2 separate regions of the Homo sapiens genome follow, and region 2 is linked to region 1. Evidence: promoter capture Hi-C in 16 types of primary human blood cells and fetal thymus (Javierre and others, 2016). All regions are on one chromosome and are shown on one strand. Each heading gives the region's core, a stretch centred on a gene start or on the middle of the fragment in contact. The rest is flanking DNA. Distances are from core to core; before and after follow the strand shown. Region 1 holds the start of MAP3K7 (mitogen-activated protein kinase kinase kinase 7). Region 2 overlaps AKIRIN2 (akirin 2).

What was found. Contacts are between HindIII fragments. The CHiCAGO score rates a contact against its expected background, and 5 or more counts as called.
Region 2: a contact is called between a fragment that was not itself captured here and the fragment with the promoter of MAP3K7 in region 1, in 1 of 17 cell types (naive CD8 T cells). The highest score is 7.5, in naive CD8 T cells.

The regions. Positions count from the first base shown.
Region 1 is chr6:90,585,397-90,588,574 of GRCh38, forward strand. It overlaps MAP3K7 (mitogen-activated protein kinase kinase kinase 7), which reads right to left and starts at 1,676. Exons shown (of 17, transcript NM_145331.3): 1 at 1,368-1,676. The coding sequence starts at 1,487. LOC124901363 (a long non-coding RNA gene) reads left to right here and starts at 1,398. Exons shown (of 2, transcript XR_007059680.1): 1 at 1,398-2,559. RefSeq lists silencers at 1,496-1,615, 1,612-1,808. The HindIII fragment of the contact is 2,842 bases long and covers 1-2,107 here.
Region 2 is chr6:87,689,448-87,692,625 of GRCh38, forward strand. All of the region lies in intron 1 of AKIRIN2 (akirin 2), which reads right to left. Among named protein-coding and RNA genes, the nearest start is that of AKIRIN2, 11 kb to the right of the region's middle. The HindIII fragment of the contact is 9,255 bases long and covers 1-3,178 here.

The sequences.
Region 1 (3,178 bases), core at 426-2,925:
ACTACTTTGAACTTGCTGACACTTAAAAATAATTTTAGAATTTTAAAGTAGACATAACTCGTTGACAATCTATAATATTTCACTAGGTTTTTCATGGACTATATAACGCAAAGTGCTTAATAAATTTAAAAAATGGCAAATAAATGGTAAGAGATAGTATTTTCAACCAAAGTTTTTAACAAGTTCTAAAGTGTCTTTAAAAAATATATATGCAGTTTTTACTTTTCTAAATTTTATAGTCATTAGAACCCAATTTACCTGTTAATTTGAAAAACGACGCTTTAAAGTCACTTTGAAATATCTTGTTCTAAAATAAATTACTGCAGAATAAAGAAAGGATATGGGTTTTCTGATAGCGATTTCTAGTCTAATATTATATTCTGATTGTCACCGAAATCATTCGTTATCTCTTCAGAATATGCTACTTGAAACATCTTTTGATCGTAGACCAGTCTATGTTACTTATGGTGAAATTCACCTACATTAGCCCAACTGAAAGCCGAGCATTTAAACATTACGAGTATTGCTGTGCGGTATCGGAGAAATTGAGAACCATTCGGTGCTAAGGGAAACACTTTATTAGACTTGATGATCTACTAATTTAACAAGCATTTATTGAGCATCCCCTACATGCCAGGTACTGAAGTAGAAGTCGAATATAATACAATCTTTGGCCATTAAGAACATTACGTCCGGCCGGGCCCGGTGGCTCACGCCTGTAATCCCAGCACTTTGGGAGGCCGAGGCGGGTGGATCATGAGGTCAGGAGATCGAGACCATCCTGGCTAACAAGGTGAAACCCCGTCTCTACTAAAAATACAAAAAATTAGCCAGGCGCGGTGGCGGGCGCCTGTAGTCCCAGCTACTCGGGAGGCTGAGGCAGGAGAATGGCGTGAACCCGGGAAGCGGAGCTTGCAGTGAGCCGAGATTGCGCCACTGCAGTCCGCAGTCCGGCCTGGGCGACAGAGCGAGACTCCGTCTCAAAAAAAAAAAAAAAAAAAAAAGAACATTACGTCCAGCGGACTGAAACTCCAGAACGGCTACGATCTTCGCTGAAACTACTACTTACAGATACGAGAACTGGTGGACCACACTATCTCACCAGTTCATTCTCCTGTTTATCACCGGAATATCAAATCCAAAATCAAGAGTACCCAAGAGAGGAAAAAAGGCAGCTACTCCCGAGCAGTTGAGCTCAGAGAGTAACCCCCACTCCCACGTTACTGAGGGCTGTGGGGTCTCCCGGGTGGACCCCGCAGGGTCCCGCGAATTAGAGGGGCCCCGGGAGGCACCTTCAGAGCCGGCACCAGGCAGAGGCGGGGGCGGGGCAGGCCGGGACCGGCGTCTCCATGCCGGGCCTCGCTCACCTCTTCCACCTCGATCTCCTTGTAGTCGATCTCTTCAAAGTTGAGGACCTGGGAAGGGGCTTCGATCATCTCACCGGCCGAAGACGAGGAGGAGGAGGAGGCGGCAGAGGCTGTAGACATGATCCCTCGCGGCGCCCGGTGGGGCCGGGAACGGTGCCACCCGGACAATCCGGGTGAGACCCGCGCCCACCCGCCTCCGGACCGACCCTCAGCCTGGAGCCGCGCAGTCCTACTACCCGGCGATCCGTGGCGGGGGTAGAGGCAGCGGCCACAGCCGTGTCCGGCTCTGGCTCCGCTGCGTTTTCCGCCGACGGGCCCCGCCCACTACACTTCCGGTTCCGGGCTGAAATCGGAAACAGGAGGAGGGCCGTAAACTCCGGGGTAGGGGAGGGGAGAATTTTGTGACTTGGAAAGAAAAGGAGGGACAGGTTGGGGGTGGGGTGGAGTAAGCTAAGAAGCAAACTTGGACCTCTAGAACAAATTTCGCGAGACCTTTATTACAGGGCCTCAGCAACCGGATGATACCGCGAGAGAGGACGCCTGACGTAATTAAAGTGCGCGAACGGAAGTGGCGCGGAACATGACGGAAAATCAGTACGGTTGGTCCCTTAAGGACCAGCGGGAAAGATAAAAGCTGGGGTTTAGTCTGTGCTGCGTGAAATATGTCTTGGCCTCACTTCCTGTCCTCTGAGCTGCCTGCAGCCGGGCGAGGTGGTGTTGAACTGTGTTTTTTGTGACGAAGCTTACTTTTAAGTTTCATCCCTAAACTAAGTTGACCTGTTTCTTTAAGACGGCTTGCAAAATGTGTTTTCCTCAATGTGGGATATGGAAAGAAGCAGTTGCTCCTGTTATTTTGAGCTAGTACCTGACGCTATGAGAAATTCTAAAAGAGCGAATCAGATCATGCAACATGAATAACTATGGAGGCTGAGTGATCAAGAACAGAAGTTAATATTTTGGTGTTACAAACTTTCCACGGATTAGGTGAATAAGATATTTATAATTTGGTGTGTTCATCTCAAGTTATGGATTACGAGTGCGGGGCACTAGTGCTTTAGATTGGTAAATGAATCATCAACAGTCGCCTTGAAAATCGAATATTTTTGTCACCATTTTCAGGACATGAGAAAACACGCTGAGAGTTTAAAGCAATTATGGTCCTCACAAACTAGATCATTCTGTCCCCAAGATGGTCAGTATTGCTCATGTTGTACTACCAGCACAAGTTTTAGTTTTAAACTAACTGTTGAATTTTATATAGTCCGTTTGACATAAAGCCTAACTGTGGAATTATGTTAAACACATTTGGGATTGCAAATAGATCATTGGATTTGACCATCAAGAAGTTACAAACTCCTGGGAAACATTCTGTCACTTTTTATTCGTAGTTCTAGTGACACGCAGTGACAGTTTGATGAGTGGATAAAAAAATGAAAGAAACGATAATTTCTTTTCACTGTACACTCTCTCTTTGCATGCTCTTACCCAAGGTCTCTGTTTCTCATACTATTTTTATAATGATGACTCCTAATCTCCAAATACTCAAGATTTTTCCTGAATTCTGGACCTATTGGTCATCTCTACTTAGACAAACACCTAAACTTCAAGATACCACAGCAAATTCAAAAGTTGTCACCCACCACAAATATATTCCTATGTTATTTTCCTATGTCACTTAAGGATGCCATCACCCAGTTGGTTGTCCAAGTGAGAAATCAGGGCATGTGAAATGATGCGTGGTGCACTGATACCCAGTAGAAGCTGATATAATCAGTGGGACAGTCATTTTCACCTGTCATTCCCCTTGCATT
Region 2 (3,178 bases), core at 489-2,988, 2.9 Mb before region 1:
AGCCTGGGCAACAGAGTGAGACTCGGTCTCAAACAAAAAAAGCATACCTGGAACCAGGATTTGCAAAACTGATGACTAACAGGCCAAACTCAGCCCCATGGACATGATTTTTTTAAAAACATGTTAATTTGTGGCCATTTAAAAACTGGGTGGTTTTACACATAAAGTCAGACTTCTGACTACTCTTGGGAAAACCAGATAACACAGCAAAACTCAGCTGAAGATTCAAAGTGACTGTTACCTTTTGGGCCTAAGTTCTCAAGTGCTTCTACAATTTTAATGCACACACAGATTACCTCCAGATCTTGTTAAAATGTAGACTCTGAAGGGTGGAGCTTAAGATTCTACGTTCCTTATGAGGTGATGCTGCCGGTCAGGACTGGAATTCACTAGTTCCCTCCTAGTTTACTTTAAATCATTTACACATCTGGAACTATGCGTATTTAAAGTTTCTAGCCCCTGCTTAAAATAACAACTCTCTTGGCCACGGGCGGTGGCTCACGCCTGTAATCCTAGCACTTTGGGAGGCCAAGGCAGTTGGTCACTTGAGGTCAGGAGTTGGAGGCCAGCCTGGCCAACATGGTGAAACCCTGTCTCTACTAAAACTACAAAAAAATTAGCTGAGCATGGTGGCAGGAGCCTGTAATCCCAGCTACTTGGGAGGCTGAGAATCGCTTGAGCTTGGGAGGCAGAGGTTTCAGTGAGCTGAGATGACGCCATTGAACTCCAGCCTGGGCAACAACAGCGAAACTCCATCTCAAAAAAAAAAAAACCAAAAAAACAAAAAAAACCAACTCTTAATTGAACATTTTTTAAAAAGTGGTTTACTATTGGACATACTAAGGAGTGGAGAGGAAGGAAAGCAAGACATTAGCAGCAAGGTTATTACAAGTAGGAAAATACCTAAGCTAACTTAAAATCATTTTGCCACCCTCACCTGAATGGTTTTTGCAGTTGTCAGTTCATTGCTTCTCAGCCTTTTGGCTAAGATCAAGTGTAATTCTAAGTCAGACATACCCCTCCTGTAGGAGGAAAATATTCTGCAAATTAATTTAACTTGATTGGACCTACTTAGGAAAACTCATTACATGACATTAACCTATATACAATGATTATTTCATCTCTCCTTATACACTTTAAAAAAGGAAATTCATATTCGTCATTATGTGACTGATGATGAAGCAATTCATTTACTTTACCAACATGACCACTTATTAAAAAGAGGAATTAAGACCACCTCTCAGGCCAGGCACGGTCACTCATGCCAGTAATCCCAGCACTTTGGGAGGCCAAGGTGGGCAGATGGCTTGAGGTCAGGAGTTCAAGACCAGTCTGGCCAACATGGTAAAACCCTATCTCTACTAAAAATACAAAAGTTAAACGGGCATAATGGCGGGCACCTGTAATCCCAGCTACTAGGGAAGCTGAAGCAGGAGAATCACTTGAATCCAGGAGATGGAGGTTGCAGCGAGCGGAGACTGCACCACTGCACTCCAGCCTGGGCAACAGAGTGAGACGGTTTCAACAACAACAACAAAAAGACCACCTCTCACACCATAAGACACTCATTAGAAGTCTACATACATCTCTTATTTATCCCATGTATTTTGTAAATTAGTTGTGAACATTTAAAAGTCAATCGATTTCACAAAAGTTCTGACTTCTAGTGGTGGAGCGAAGGCTACCAAGATCTGACGATAAAAAGTCCAAATTAGGCTGGGCGTGGTGGCTCACACCTATAATCCCGGCACTCTGGAGGCCAAGGTGGGCAGATCACTTGAGGCTAGGAGTTGGAGACCAGCCTGGCCAACATGGTGAAACTGTCTCTACTAAAAATACAAAAATTAGCCGGGCATGGTGATACACATCTGTAATCCCAGCTACTTGGGTGGCTGAGGCAGGAGAATTGCTTGAACCCAGGAGGCAGAGGTTGCAGTGAGCCGAGATCGCACCACTGCACTCCAGCCTGGGAAACAGGGCAAAACCTCATCTTAAAAAAAAAAAAAAAAAAAAAAAAAGTCCACATTTCCCATGGCTGCAACTAAAGAGGAACTGTCTGAACCAACTGAAGATACAAATTAAAGAGACATCTGTAAATGGAAACTGAAGTCAGGAGCAGGCATGTGACTGCTTAGGGAGCTATTAAGTGACATAAGCATGGAGCTAAAGCTAGAACTAAAGAACTGCAAGGTTTAATGCCCAGGTAAAGAGAAGAACAGCTAGGGAGTAGAGGGAAATTGTAGTCAAAGGAGAAAAAGGCCATTTCAAAAAGAAAGGAGTGTGCCAGCAGGCAGAATGCTGAAAGAAAGGTCAAATAAGAGGAGGACTGATTGAGTGTCATGGAAGTCACTGATGACCTGACAGGAGCTGCTTGAGGCATGTCAGGAATTAAGAACTGAAGAAATGGAAGCAAACAGACTATTTGAAAGCTCTCTGAATTTGATTTTGAAGTGGAGGAAATCTGGAAGATAGCTGGAGGAAAATGAGTATGTTTTGTTCTTTTACTTTCTCATGGAAGGCTTGTGAATATATAAAGCCAAAAGCAAAGATCCAATTGAGAGAAGAAATGGAATAATCAAGAGGATAAAGTTACTTTGGAGAAAAGTGGAATCTTTCCCTCACTATATACAGTGCTTTAATAATTGTTTAATCCTCGATGATACTAGAACAGGACAGGCTCAAATGTCAGTAGTGCTGGTACTAAAAACAATGAAAAAACTGTGATTTGATGGCAACTCTTTTGTAGAAGGCAGGCTTAGTCACTGAAAGGCAAACTTGCTGGTGAGTAAAAGTCCCATTTGAGGTTGCCTTCTTGAGACCATTTCCATCACTTGGCCAGTAAATGCTCTTAATTCTCACAACCCTAAGAGGCATATGCTACTATCATCATGTGCACATTTCCTGAGATGAGAAAAATGAGGCTCTGCTTCAGTGTCTTCTGCAATGTCACACGGCTTGAACATGGCAGAGCCAGGTTTGACCTCAGGGCCCAAGTTCTTAACATCTACTACCCTCTCCAGTAGTACATTACTACACTTAATCAAAATTCTATTAGCATTTAATGTTAAAATAAATCACAATGGGCTGGGCGCGGTGGCTCATGCCTGTAATCCCAGCACTTTGGGAGACAGAGGTGGGCAGATCACCTGAGGTCAGGAGTTCAAGACCAGCTTGGCCA